3 separate regions of the Homo sapiens genome follow, and all the other regions are linked to region 1. Evidence: promoter capture Hi-C in 16 types of primary human blood cells and fetal thymus (Javierre and others, 2016). All regions are on one chromosome and are shown on one strand. Each heading gives the region's core, a stretch centred on a gene start or on the middle of the fragment in contact. The rest is flanking DNA. Distances are from core to core; before and after follow the strand shown.

The links. The method cuts DNA at HindIII sites, captures the fragments that hold promoters and counts their contacts. A CHiCAGO score of 5 or more calls a contact.
Region 2: a fragment that was not itself captured here is called in contact with the fragment with the promoter of LINC01926 in region 1 in 12 of 17 cell types (total B cells, monocytes, naive B cells and 9 more); the score reaches 9.9 in total B cells.
Region 3: the fragment with the promoter of ALPK2 here is called in contact with the fragment with the promoter of LINC01926 in region 1 in 11 of 17 cell types (neutrophils, monocytes, total B cells and 8 more); the score reaches 9.8 in neutrophils.

What each region holds. Positions count from the first base shown.
Region 1 is chr18:58,811,934-58,816,585 of GRCh38, forward strand. It overlaps LINC01926 (long intergenic non-protein coding RNA 1926), which reads left to right and starts at 1,947. Exons shown (of 3, transcript NR_146904.1): 1 at 1,947-2,141. The HindIII fragment of the contact is 11,966 bases long and covers 1,044-4,652 here.
Region 2 is chr18:59,066,154-59,070,805 of GRCh38, forward strand. It overlaps the pseudogene OACYLP. Among named protein-coding and RNA genes, the nearest start is that of SEC11C, 71 kb to the right of the region's middle. The HindIII fragment of the contact is 8,599 bases long and covers 1-4,652 here.
Region 3 is chr18:58,626,562-58,631,213 of GRCh38, forward strand. It overlaps ALPK2 (alpha kinase 2), which reads right to left and starts at 2,530. Exons shown (of 13, transcript NM_052947.4): 1 at 2,203-2,530. RefSeq lists an enhancer at 2,547-3,089. The HindIII fragment of the contact is 8,777 bases long and covers 724-4,652 here.

The sequences.
Region 1 (4,652 bases), core at 697-3,196:
CACACCTGGCCCCACTGCAGATTTCATAATTTTATTTTATATATTTATATATTTATTTATTTATTTATTTTTGAGACAGAGTCTCGCTCTGTTGCCCAGGCTTGAGTGCAGTGGCGGGGTCTTGGCTCACCGCCAGCTCTGCCTCCCAGGTTCACGGCATTCTCCTGCCTCAGCCTCCCGGGTAGCTGGGACTACAGGCGCCCGCCACCACGCCTGGCTATTTTTTTGTATTTTTAGTAGAGACAGGGTTTCGCCATGTTAGCCAGGATGGTTTCGATCTCCTGACCTCGTGATCCATCCGCCTCGGCCTCCCAAAGTGCTGGGATTACAGGCGTGAGCCACCACGCCCGGCTATTTATTTATTTTTTTTCAGAGACAGTCTCGCTCTGTCGCCTAGGCTGGAGTGCAGTGGTGTGATCTCGGCTCATTGCAACCTCCACCTTCCAGGTTCAAGCAATTCTCCTGCCTCAGCCTCCCGCAAAGCTAGGATTACAGGCGCATGCCACCATGCCTGGCTAATTTTTTTGTTTTGTTTTGTTTTGACACAGAGTCTCGCTCTATCGCCCGGGCTGGAGTGCAGTGGCACGATCTCAGCTCACAGCAACCTCTGCCTTCTGGGCTCAAGGGATTCTCCTACCTCAGCCTCCCAAATAGCTGGGATTACAGGTATGCACCACCATCCCTGGCTAATTTTTCTATTTTTAGTAGAGATGGGATTTCACCACGTTGGCCAGGCTTGTCTTGAACTCCTGTCCTCAGGTGATCCACCCACCTCGGCCTCCCAGAGTTCTGGGATTACAGGTGTGAGCCACTACGCCCGGTCAGCATCAGTATTCTTGCGCTATGGGGCCATCATGAAGTGAAATAAGAATGACTTGAACCCAAGCACTGCAATACAGAGACAGCCGATGTGGTAACTGAGAGGGCTCCGATGTGACTCATGAGTGGGGACATCTATGGCATGGAGATGCTGGACAAAGGGAGGAATCCCACCGCAGGTGCAAGGCTTCATCACACTACTCAGAATGGCAGGTGCAACTTAAAGCTTATGAATTGCTTATTTCTGGAATTTTCCATTTAATATTTTTGGACCTTAGTTAACGGAAGGTAACTGAAACCATGGAAAGTGAAATCATGGTTAAGTGGGGCTATGATAAATTGTGACCACCAAAAACAACAGAATTCATAACTGGCACGATGCAGCTATTTCTCCACTAAGGGCCCTGAGTGTTCTTTGAGTGTAAAATTTGTGTTTCTATTTTGGTGGTTATCTAAAAAAAAGCTAGCATCTGTGTGTTGCAGATCATCTGGCTGATTACCGCACAGCTCGAATTCTGCTTCATGATGCCTGCATTCACATTTTGTCTTGGATTCCAGATGTACTGGCACTACTGAGATGCTGAAAGCTCGGGATCCCCTATAACTGTCTTCTTCATCACCAACCCAAGAGTACAGCTGCAGAATTGCAAAGCCAGTTCTTCAGTGTAACATGCATATTTGATGATCGGTGTCCACCAAATTACAGGCTTTTATCTTTTTAATCTTTGGGAGTGAGAGTAGTTGACTTTTAATTTATGAATTTGTATTAAAAGCAAAAATGTCTGGAGAAAAGCGGTAAACTGGAAATTATGATTGGTGTAATTTACAATAGAAATAGGCAATTTCGAATAAAGAGCAGAAAACCATACCTAATTTATGCATGAGGACAGAATGCATGCTGAAATTAAGACAAGATTGACACTGAAAGACTAGGCAGAAAAAAAAAACAGAACAGAAAAAGAAGAGAAGAGTGGTGGAAATGTCAACAGATTCCTAGTGGAAATATTTGCTCACAGCCATCAAGCTGTACAAGTTTGAAAAAGTAAGATCAACAAAATATATTACAAGGATCTTTCTGAACTGGCTCTCAACCTTTTCTTTTTCCCTCATCCCATTCTATTTATACACATCACAGTCCCAAGAATAACACAAGAAATTCTCCAAGTTTCCAAGAAGGGAAGATGGAGTGGAGGGCGCCCACCCTATCTCCAGTGGACATCCCCTGGGCTACTCCTCTCCTGATGAGAAAATGCTCACTTCAGCCAAGTGCAGAATGGTCCCCTTTGTTTTCGTGGGTATCAGTGGAGAATGAGATCCTTCATGTAAGTAAAATTTCACTGTCACTCATTAGGATGGCTAATATCCAAATAAACAGAACAGAAAATAACAACTGGTGAGGATGTTGGGAAATTGGAATCCTTGTACATTGCTGGTGGGAATGTAAAATGGCGCCATTGTTGTAGAAAACAGTAATGACGTTCCTCAAAAACTTAACCCTAAAATTACCATATGATCTAGCAATTATGCTTCAGAGTATGTTCCCAAAAGAAATGAAAGCAGGCACTGATATGGCATGGCTCTGGGTCCCCACCCAAATCTCACCTTGAATTGTAATCCCCACAAGTCCAGGGAGGGACCTGGTAGGAGGTGATTGGATCATGGAACTGGTTTCCCCCATGTTGCTCTCATGACAGTAAGTTCTCACAAGATTCGATGGTATTATAAGGGGCTTTCCCTTCACTCACACTCTCTCCTGCCGCCTTGTGAAGAAGGTGCCTGCTTCCCCTTTGCCTTCCACTATGACCATAAGTTTCCTGAGGCTTCCCCAGCCATGGGGAACTGCGAGTCAATTAAGCCTCTTTTGTTTATAGATTGCCCAGTCTCAGGTAATATATCAGGCAGTATCTTTATAGCAGTGTGAAAACGGACTAATACAGGGACTCAAACAGATACTTGTACTTCCACATTTCTAACAACTAAACTGTGGAAGCAACTTAAGTGTCCACTGATAGACGAATGGAGAAACACAATGTGGAACATACATACAATGGAATAGAGTTCAGCCTTAAAAGAGAAGGTCATTCTTTTTTTTTCTTTCTTTCTTTTTTTTTTTTTTTTTTTGAGACAGGGTCTCGCTCTGTCATCCAGGCTGGAGTGCAGTGGCGTGATCTCGGCTCACTGCAACCTCTGCCTCCCAGGCTCAAGTGGTCCTCCCACCTCAGCCTCCCGAGTAGCTAGGACTATAGGTGTGCACCACTATGCCTAGCTGATTTTTGTATGTTTTTAGTAGAGACAGGGTTTCACAATGTTGCCCAGGCTAATTTTGAACTCCAGAACTCAAGCACTCTGACCACCTCAGCCTCCTGAAGTGCTGGGATTACAGGCATGAGCCACCGCGACTGGCCTAAATTGTCTAGCTTTTAATCTGCCTCATTGCATCTGACAGCTACAAACTACAACCCTTCCCTGTTCCTGAATTTTCTTCCAAAACACATCTGTAATGCCACTGCCATGCCTGCGAAGCACTGATGACTCTTCATCAGAATAGGCAGAAATTCACCTCCCAATCCGACCCCAATCTACCTCCAATTTACCTCATCTCCTGCACCCCCATCCCTAACCCCATGCATGATAATCATAGTCTTTTTTTTTTTTTTTTGAAACAGAGTTTCGCTCTTGTTGCCCAGGCTGGAGTGCAATGGCGCAATCTCTGCTCACTGCAACCTCTGCCTCCCGGATTCAAAGGATTCTTCTGTCTCAGCCTCCCAAGTAGCTGGGATTACAGGCGCATTCCACCATGCTGGCTATTTTTTTGTGTGTTTTTAGTAGAGACAGGATTTCATCATATTGGTCGGGCTGGTCTCGAACTTCTGACCTTGTGATCGCCTTGGTCTCCCAAAGTACTGGGATTACAGGCGTGAGCCACTGCGCCCAGCCTTTTTTTCATGACTTTAATACTCTAAGGAATGGCACAGCTCCAAATCCTCACAAATATACCTCATTCTTTGTAGTATATGTTTCTCTGCCTTATGAAACTGTACGCTCCTCAAGTCCAAATTAATTCCAACGTCACCTTGATTGGTCCCACACTGACCTCTAGCCTAAATTAATCACTGTCTCCTCAGGAGATTCAGCATATTTGTTTCTACGTTGGATGACCTTTGCATAAGGAACCAACCGGCTGTTTGCTCAGAAGGAGGCTGTGGCAGCATAGGCACTTACACTGTCATATTCAACACACTGAATTCTAGATACCTGCCTGGCTGTCTCTTCTGCTGCAGGATCAAGTCTTATTTAGTTTTCTGTCCCAGTGTCTAACACAGTGCCTTGAATGGGGAGACACTCAGCCATCATTTACTAAATTGAAATGAATTGTGAGAATGCATTGCAGATGCACCTGAATTGGGAGTTACCAAAAAGAGAGAAAAGAGGAAATTGTACTGGAGTCAAAGATAAATTTAATCTAATTCATATTTATGATCACAGAGATCATGTCAGCATATGAAACTCTAGTGCATGAATTAGGGCAGCAGACCCCAACCTTTCTGGGACCAGGGACCGGTTTCATGGTTTCATGGAAGACAATTTTTCCACGGACCAGGGGTGGGGAAGATGAAACTGTTCCACCTCACATGATCAGGCATTAGATTCCCATACAGAGCACGCAACCTAGATCCCTCACATGCGCAGTTCACGATAGGATTCCTGCTCCTATGAGAATCTAATGCTGCCGCTGATCTGACAGGAGGCGGAGCTCAGGCAATAATGGCTCACCAGCCGCTCACCTCCTGCTGTGCTGCCGGTTCCTAACAGGCCACAGACCGGTACCTTCA
Region 2 (4,652 bases), core at 891-3,390, 250 kb after region 1:
TTTGCAAAGATGTGGTATGAAAGCATTCTGGGCAGATGGAATGTGAAGGCAGAGGTCTCTAGACTGGAACGAGCTTAGTGGCTTGGAGGAAGAGCAAAATGACCAGTGAGATAGGAACCAAGGGTCAAGGGGGAGAGAGAGGTGGGAAGGGAACTCAGAGAGGAGGGTAGGACCCAGGTTAGGCAGAGCTTTCAAGGCCATGGGAAGAGTTTGGATTTTATTTTAAATGCCACATCACATGAAGTCTTAGTCCATTTCAGCTACTATAACAAAAATAAAGCCCCATAAATGAGGTGGCTTAAAAACAACAGAAATTTATATCTCACAGTTCTGGAGCTGGGAGGTCTAAGATCAAGGCACCAGCAGATTTAGTGTTTGGTGAAGGCCTGCTTTCTGGTTCTTAGCTGGAACTTTCTAGATGTGTCCTCACATGGCGGAAGGGTAGGGCTGTCTCTCTGGGGTCGCTTTTATAAGAGCACTGATACCATTCCTGAAGGCCCAGCCCTCGTGAACTAATTGCCTCTCCAAAGACTCCACCTCTTGATACTAACACCTTGGGGATTAGGATCTCAACATATGAATTTTGGGGGAATGTAAACACTCAGATCATAGCCCATGATTTGATTTGTGGATTTGTAAAATTTATTTTCAAATGGACAAATAATAACTGTATTTATGGGGTACAATGTGATGTTTTGGTATATGTATACCTAGTAGAAAGATGAAATCAAGTTAATTAACATAGGCATCACTTCACCAAGTTATCTCTTTTTTGTGGTAAGAATGTTAAGAATCTTTTCTTTTAGCCATTGAAAAATATCCAGTACATTATTATTAACTGTGGTCACTATGCAGTGCAATAGATCACTAAAACTTACTCCATCGGTTTAACTGAAACTTTGTACGCTTTGATCAATATCTCCCCCTTCCCCATTTCTCCCTGATATGTGATTTTAAAAGATTACTCTGGATGTGGTGTGGGGACTATAAGGTGGCAAGAACAAGAGCAGAGACCAACAGATCCACTGGGAAGCTACCATGGAGGCCCACGCAGGAGGTGATGGAAGATTCACGAGGGTGTTAGCCATGGAGGTGAGGAGCAATGGTCTGATTTGAGACATATTTTTGGAAGCACTCTATGGAGTCTGGAATGAAAGGAGTCTGGGAAGGCTCCAAAGATTTATCCTGAGCAAATTGTGATTCACTACTGAGCACTTTTAATGAGGCTTGTGCAAAGGAGAAACAGAAGTTATATTTTATATCTGTGGCTTAAAACAACAGAAATTTTTTTCTCTCACAGTTCTGGAGGCTAGCTGTTCAAAATCGAAGTGTCAGCAGGGTTGGTTCCATCTGGATTTTCTGAGGGAGAATCTGTCCCATCCCCTCTCCTAGCCTCTGGTAGCTGCTGGCAAGCCTTGGCATTCCTTGGCTCATGGACTCTTCACTCCAGTCTCTGTCTTCGTCATCACATGGTTCTCTTCCTTGTGTCTCTCCTCTGCATTTGTGTCTCCTTTTCTGTCTCTTATAAGGACATTTGTCATTGGGTTTAGGGTCCACCCTAATCCAGGATGATCTCATCTCTAGTTCTTTCTCTTAATGACATCTGCAAAGACCCTTATTCCAAATAAGGTTACATTCTGAGGTTCTGGGTGGACATATCTTTTGAAAGATCACTATGCAACTCACTAGAGATAGCAATAAGTCCTATTCAGAAAGGAAGTTTTCATTGCATTTAATTTTAATTAAGTTAAATAGCCACAAGTGGCTAGGGGCTATTGTCTGGGACAACACAGTTCTAGAATATATACCAAGTTACAGAATATTTGTCCTGAAAGGCACCTACAAATGCAAGCCTCTCACTGACAGAAGAGTTTGAGGCCTGGCAATGTTAAATGCCTTATCCCAACGCCCCCCTGTGGCTGCATCTTGATCCAGAACCCAGGTGAATATGAGGAATTTTTACCTTGTTTTATACATGCAATGTTTTATGCTCAGGGGCTGAAACCATGTATCTCTCTTGTGTTATCATAATTCTTGCAACAGAAAGGTGGTTTTTGGTTTGGTACATTGTCTTAAAATGATAACGCATAAAGACTTTCTTAGGAAAAGTTCACAGACTTAGGCACAGAATGCAATGGGAGCATCGATGGGATGATGGGCATCTTCACTGGCCCAGAGACAGGCTGTGGCTTCATGCATCAGTGCTTGTTCCCTCCAGGTCTGGTGAACCGTGTGCTTTCTTGGGACATCTGGAGTTTCCTGTCCAGCATCAGTTATGCTCGCTACTTGGTGCATCCGATTCTGATCATCCTTTACAATGGCCTTCAGGAAACACTTATTCACCACACTGACACCAACATGGTGAGTTAGCACGCAGCTCCTAGTTCTGTTACGGTAGGTTATGGTATCATAGCTTGTTCTCTTCTTGAGCAACAAGGCAACCTATTTGCTTTCGTGGAAGTCTTTTTTTTTTTTAAGAGCTTCATTGTTCTTTGCTTTATTTGTGGCAGAAAGAGGGAGGGCTTCAGCACAGGATAATATCTTTTATTTTATTTATTTTATTTTTAATATGTAGCACTGATTGTCCTACAGATGCATTTCATAGAGCTAGGATGGTACACTTTAGATCTGAACACAATAGGAATCCCAGAGTAAAACTGTGTTCACCCTGCCCACTTTCTCTCCAGTTCTATCTTTTCTCTGGACACCGTGTGCTGACCTTCGTCACTGGGCTGGCCCTGACGCTGTTCATTGAGAAACCATGTCAGGAACTGAAGCAGCACCTGCTGGGCCATGAATGTTCTGGTTAAAACACAAAAGAATGGATGGGCCTTGTTGGTAATGACGAGCAAAGATGAGGTGGCCTTATCTAGGTGATGAATGCTTGTATTCCCGAGAAGGGGTGTGAATCTCATTTTGTGAAAGTTTAATATATACATTTTCTTTGCATTTAATATGTGAAAGAGTTCTTAGTTCTTATGATGTAAGAGAGTTCTCTAAATTTTTAGTAGCACAATAATAAACTTCTGTTGTACCATTTTAGCAAACAACAACAACAACAACAACAGAAACTGGATTTCTTTTTGGTTTAAACTCCATTTGATTGTCTGTATCAATGATCACAGGAAATGATTAAATGTCGTGCATTTAATGTAATTTGGGTTATGAAGCTCATTTGGGTTATGCTCTTCACTTTTCTCTGTAAAATTACAACATGCAGTATGCACTTTCCCACGACAGAATTGTTTATGTGTTATTATGGCGTCTTTGCAGACTTGTAACTTTATCCTAGAACCTCAGTGGTATGACCCGCTAGCATGCATACTTCATGGGTCTGTCATTATAGGGCCTTTCAAATATCACCTATTCTTCACCATAGTCCCTGTTTTGGACTGAATTGTATCCCCTCCCCCAAAAGCTCTGTTGAAGTCCTAACTCCCATTCCCTCAGAATGTGGCCTTATTTGGAGCCAGGGTCTTTATAGAGATAATGAAGTCCAACGAGGTCACTGGGGATGGAGATTCTAATCCAGTATGACTGGTGTCCTTATAATAAGCAGAAGTTTGGTCACGGAGACAGGCATACACACAGGGAAGACGATGTGAAGACCCAGGGAGAAGACAGTCATGTGCAAACCCAGGAACACCAAGGCAAACCCCAGAAACCGGGGGAGGTAAGGACAGAGTCTGCCCTGGAGCTGCCCGAGAAAGCATGGCCCCGTGGGACACCTCGATTTTGGACTTCTGGCCTCCAGAACTGTGAGATAATTCATGTCTGTTGTTTCAAGCCACCCAGTTTTTGGTACTTTGTCACAGCAGCCCTAGATAGATGGATATCCCTATGCACCAACATAGGGCCTCAACAAAAACTAACAGAGAAGGAAGAGACCTCAGCCAGTGGTTTCCAGCCCAACCCCCTCAATTTGCAGCGATGAGACCTAGAGATGAGGAGAGACTCGCAAGGCCAAACAGAGATGCTAGGATCCAGGCTCTCGGATGTGTGTTTTTTCTAGGTGTATAATTATGCATTAACTGTCTACAGTTATGGATTAATTAAGTCCATTCCATCGCTTATAATAAAGCTCTTTGTGTACTTACTCATTAAAGTATTAACAACCGCAGGCTACAAGGTCCTTATTAGCGTGGGATGCGCCACATCTGAGGATGCTCTTTGCTGTCCAGTGCGTTTGCAAAGATGACCAATGTGGGTGGGGAGGGGAAGGCTGAACGTTTCACACACTCTGATGGCCACGGACAGCTAACCTTGGCCTTGCCAGCCAGCCACGGGGATCATCTCCCTGAGGATGATGAGATGAGAGACCTCATCTCCCTGAGGTCTGGTCCCTCTGCTGAAGAAGCCAACCTGAGGGAGTGGGGCGCCAAGGCTCAACAGCCGCGCTGTGAGAAGGCAGCCTAATTGGCTTTTCAGTGAACGCCGAAGTTCATCGAGTTCCTCGGGAGCCCCCTGGTGGCTTCTTTGGCACCTGAACCCTCTCACTTCGTTAGGCCTCCAAGGAGCTGTTGAGGACCAGTGGCATTTTCAGGGTAACACTGCCACATGGGTGGACTTCGGTGGGAGATGACTCACATGCCAACATCGTTCTGCAGCCAAATTGCCAAATGCTTCCAGTTATGAGGCCAGAAATCTGGGAC
Region 3 (4,652 bases), core at 1,280-3,779, 180 kb before region 1:
GATTCCCAAACACTCATATTTAAATATGGTAATGATATGTATTAAAAAGCATTCCCAGAGGATGTTGATAAATCTCTACTTCTGCTTTTAGATAATAAGCATCAATTATCCATCAACTATTTTTAGTAAAAAAAAATTTTTTCTTATTTATCATAGATACATTCTAAAATATCTTTTTTTAATTTTCAAACACATTGTTTCCAAGTACAGAATTTTTCTCAAAGAATCTAATTGTGTTATGTTGTATTGCACTGATGCAGATAATGTATAGTTTCTATTACTTTATATAGTTTATTTTATGGTAGTATTCTAAAGTTTTAGCAAAAAAAAAAAAGACAGAAGCTTTTAATTAAGGTGAAAAACTAACTTTCATTGAGAAACTATGATTCGACACATACTTTAGGTATATTTATTCATCTAATCCCCCATCAATCCTGTTAAAGTGAATACTGTTAAGATTTTACAGATGAGTAAACTGGGGTTCAAACAGGTTGAAAAGTTATGCTAAAATTAGGAGTCGATTCCAAATCTGACTCCAAAGCCTTTCTCAGGACCTCCCCTGCTTCTCCCACCTCCATCCAGAGTAAGATACTAACTCAACTGCATCGCATCACAGGGGCTGATACCTACACACAAGTGTTCAGGAGGCTGTTAAAAACTCATGAAACTGGAGGAGAAAAAAACTTTGTAGGTAATGACAATAGGAACTCTGCCCTACCTAAAAGCTTCCCAAAATTATGATTAAATGTTTGGTAAAAACATCAAAAAGACAATGTAGGCCAGGCGCGGTGGCTCACGCCTGTAATCCCAAGACTTTGGGAGGCCGAGGCGGGTGGATCACCTGAGGTCAGGAGTTCAAGACCAGCCTGGCCAACATGGTGAAACCCCATCTCAACTAAAAATACAAAAAAAATTAGCTGGGCATGGTGGCAGGCACCCGTAATGCCACCTACTTTGGGAGGCTGAGGCAGGAGAATCGCTTGAACCCAGGGGGCGGAGGTTGCAGTGAGCTGAGACTGAGACATTGTACTCCAGCCTGGGCAACAAGAGCAAAACTCTATCTAAAAACAAAAAACAAACAAACAAAACAAAACAAAAAAAGGACAATGTATATTTGGGAGCTAAAGTTCATTTAGTTTGTTTTAAGTCCTGATTTCCAAGATCTGAACATGGTTATTGGCCATCCATGCTTTTTAATACAGGATTTGTGAAGTTGTTGATTCGGAAGGTAACCCACAACATCCTTGGTTTCAATTCAGAAGCCACACAGCAAAAAACCCCTTCAATTTGTCCTTAGTTGATATAGAGTTATAAAACATATCACATATCTCTGGAATGACCATTCCTGGTTAATTAATCTTTAGAAATAAAGGCTACCTTTACTTAAGGAAAAGGTTGTGGAAAGAAAATAATTAGAGCAGAAGCAGCTCTAAATGCCGTTCTTGCTTTTATCTATTTTTAAATGATTGCCAAATGTCTGTAACTGACACCCTTAATCAAGGCTTTTAAAGTTTAGATGTGTTCATTAAATTGTAATGTGACAGTGGTGGCATTTAATTGATGGATTTTTTTTTGGCTGACTTTTTGCCTTAAATTTTTTTTTAAATCTATTTAACAACTCGATAAATGTTTACATCAGCCATTTTGAAAAGCCTGATAGCTTTTCAGCAAATTGCATTACCTGTTGTCAGACAATATACTCCTGTGTCTACCCAGATAGGAGAGATTTTCAATCATTCAGTTAATTCACAGTAAAAGGAATAACTCTTGACTAAAATACTCAAATATTTCAGACAAAAGTCTCTGGGGCCTGAGTTACCTGGATAGTTGACTTTTTATGTTGCTTTGCAAAACTTTACATATCACTCGTTTGAGTCATTCTGTATATTTTTTCTAACTGTTAAGATAGACATGATGTGAAAGAAACTGTTTTCATTCATTATTGTCAAGCCAAAATAAGCAAATTTAAAAATAGCAATAATTTTCAAAAAGGGTCAAAATGGACTTAAATTACAAGACCATGAGAGTTTGCCCACTTTAAAACCTTATATGCCCAAATATCCCATATAATCCCTATTGGTTTCATCTCATTCTATTTCATCAGGAAACCATCTGCTTTGTTCTTTGTTGCAGAAAATGTAAACAACTATATATTGAAAGCACAGCCATTCCTTATGTAAAAACCAAAGTCTACATACTTACTTTTCAGTACTCTTTGTCCAAGAAATGTTGTAGGAGGGCTGGCTCAGCTGTGGATTCCCCAGGCTGTGTGTGAGGCATTGATTGGGTGTCCCTGTTCCCGGGACAGGGATTCAAAGGAGTTTATAGGGCTCAGGGTCTTCCATGATCAGGTCAAAGCATAGATGGGTCTGCTTCCAGAAAGTTCATCTCTTCCTAAGAGGGGAAATTCCATGCCCGGGGAAGTTCTGGAAGAAGAGCATTTTTTCCCCGCCCTTCAGTGAACTAGGTCATTGCTGAAGCTGGAGAATATATTTTAGCATCCCTGTGATGAAACTTGAGGGCTGTTTCTGCAGTAGGTGCGACACTTGTTGACACGACACGCTGGGGAGGCCCTGGCAAGGGGGCCTGGTGAAATGCAGCCCCAGGGAGCTGATGAAACCCAGACGAGCTGTCACTGGCTGCTGCTCAGGAGACCGAGCAGCTCTTTACAAAGCCCATGCTGGACCCTGGGCTTAGTTGCTCGCTCCTTAGGAAAGGAAAAACTTGCTGCCTGATAAAGGGATTAAGGCCGGAGTAACACAACCAGTTCTCATACCAAGGTTATCAGGCATTTGAAGTACACATAGGAAACCCGTGGAGGGGGTGTTGGGGAGGTGAAAATATGTGTCATATGTTGTTCATTTAGAACAGGCATTATAGCCATCCTCTGAAGTTCTCTGAGAAAGGCAGAAGCCACAGAAGGAAGGCAGGATCCACCCTCCTCACCCTGCTTACCCCCCCTTACCCCTTGTCTGTCTGTCTGTCTCTCTCTCTCTCTCTCTCACACACACACACACACACACACACACACACACCCCTTCCTATTTTGACTACGATAGAAGAGAACAGACAAAGATCAGAAGAAATCCACAGAAGAAATACCACAGGTCCTATTCCTTCAGATTGCCTGGAATGGTTCTTGTTGGGAAAGTAGATTTTGTAATATGGGCAATTCTTTTATTGAAGTTTATCCAAGTCCAAAAACATAGAGAATCCTTTAGCATCATTCTGTAACTACTTAGCCTCTCCCCAAAAATATTTTAATGTATGACACCTGGAAATTGACAGCTTAGACAGAAACCTCTTTTGAGACTCGTGGAGACAGCTCAAATTAGCAGCTCCAGGGGTGACTTTGAAAGGGACATAGCTGTAAATATTCACTCTGTGTAGGGCACTGCAATCCTCAAAAGCAAATTGTTTTTACACAGCACAGAATGTACATCATTATCCCTTGATGGAATGCAACTTTTCACAAGATGAAAACTCATCTAAAACGATAAAATATTAAGAAATGTAGGGGTGATATGTTCTGTTTTTCAGTTTTATCTTCATGTGAGAAAAAAGATATTAAAGCTGAGGCACTGTAAAATAATGACTATCTCCTGGGGAACACATCTGTGAAATGCCACAGAACACAGAAATTACCAACTCTTTGCAAATGGTCGGCTTTATGGAAAGCTGAGGTCTTCACAATGTAAGGTCTTTTCCAGATAAGAAAGAGGAGATAACTTCAAGTTGGGAATGAAGAGAGGAGGAAAGTGTGATGATAAAGAATAAACAAATGCTGTCGCACACCACAGAGAGAATAAAGTCAAAAGTGAAGGAATGTCCCAAAGCAATAGATAAATGTGATATGGTTGTGAAAGAAGTGTTGCCTGGGAGTTATTAAATGGAAAAGTTGAAATTCACTATGAAACTTAATTTTGTTCCTCTGAAATAATTTGAAAAACCAATTCCCTCAACTCCCAACATTCATCTCCTAGCAAAATAAATGTAAAGAGCAGAAGGTTTATATATGTGCATATATAGATACACACACACACACACACACACACATACACACATATACATGCATGCATACACACATACATGCATATATATACACACACGTACATACATACATATAATGGATTTAACTGTATTTGTTTTATTCATCTCATGAATTTACAGCCACAGAATTTATGTTTTAATCTTAGGTGTCGGGGAGGAAGCATGAAAGAAAATCAGAAACAGAAATCTTGGAATTAAACTCAAATTAGGCCTGTAATCCCTGCACTTTGGGAGGCCGAGGCAGGTGGATCACTTGAGGTCCGGAGTTCAAGATCAGCCTGGCCAACATGGTGAAACCCCCCGTCTCTACTAAAATATAAAAAATAGCTGGGTGTCATGGCTCACGCCTGTAATCCCAGCTACTCAGGAGGTTGAGGCAGGAGAATTGTGTGAACCCAGGAGGTGGAGGTTGCAGTGAGCCAATATCACTCCACTGTACTCCAGCCTGAGGGACAGAGCAAGACTCCATCTCAAAAAAAAAAAAAAAACCTCAAATTAGACCAGGACACTAGTTCTGAATTTTCTGTGAATATCAAAGGAGGGATGGAAGAAGTAAGACGTTGAAGAGAAAAAGAAAGGCATGTATCTGTGCCCTGCTAATA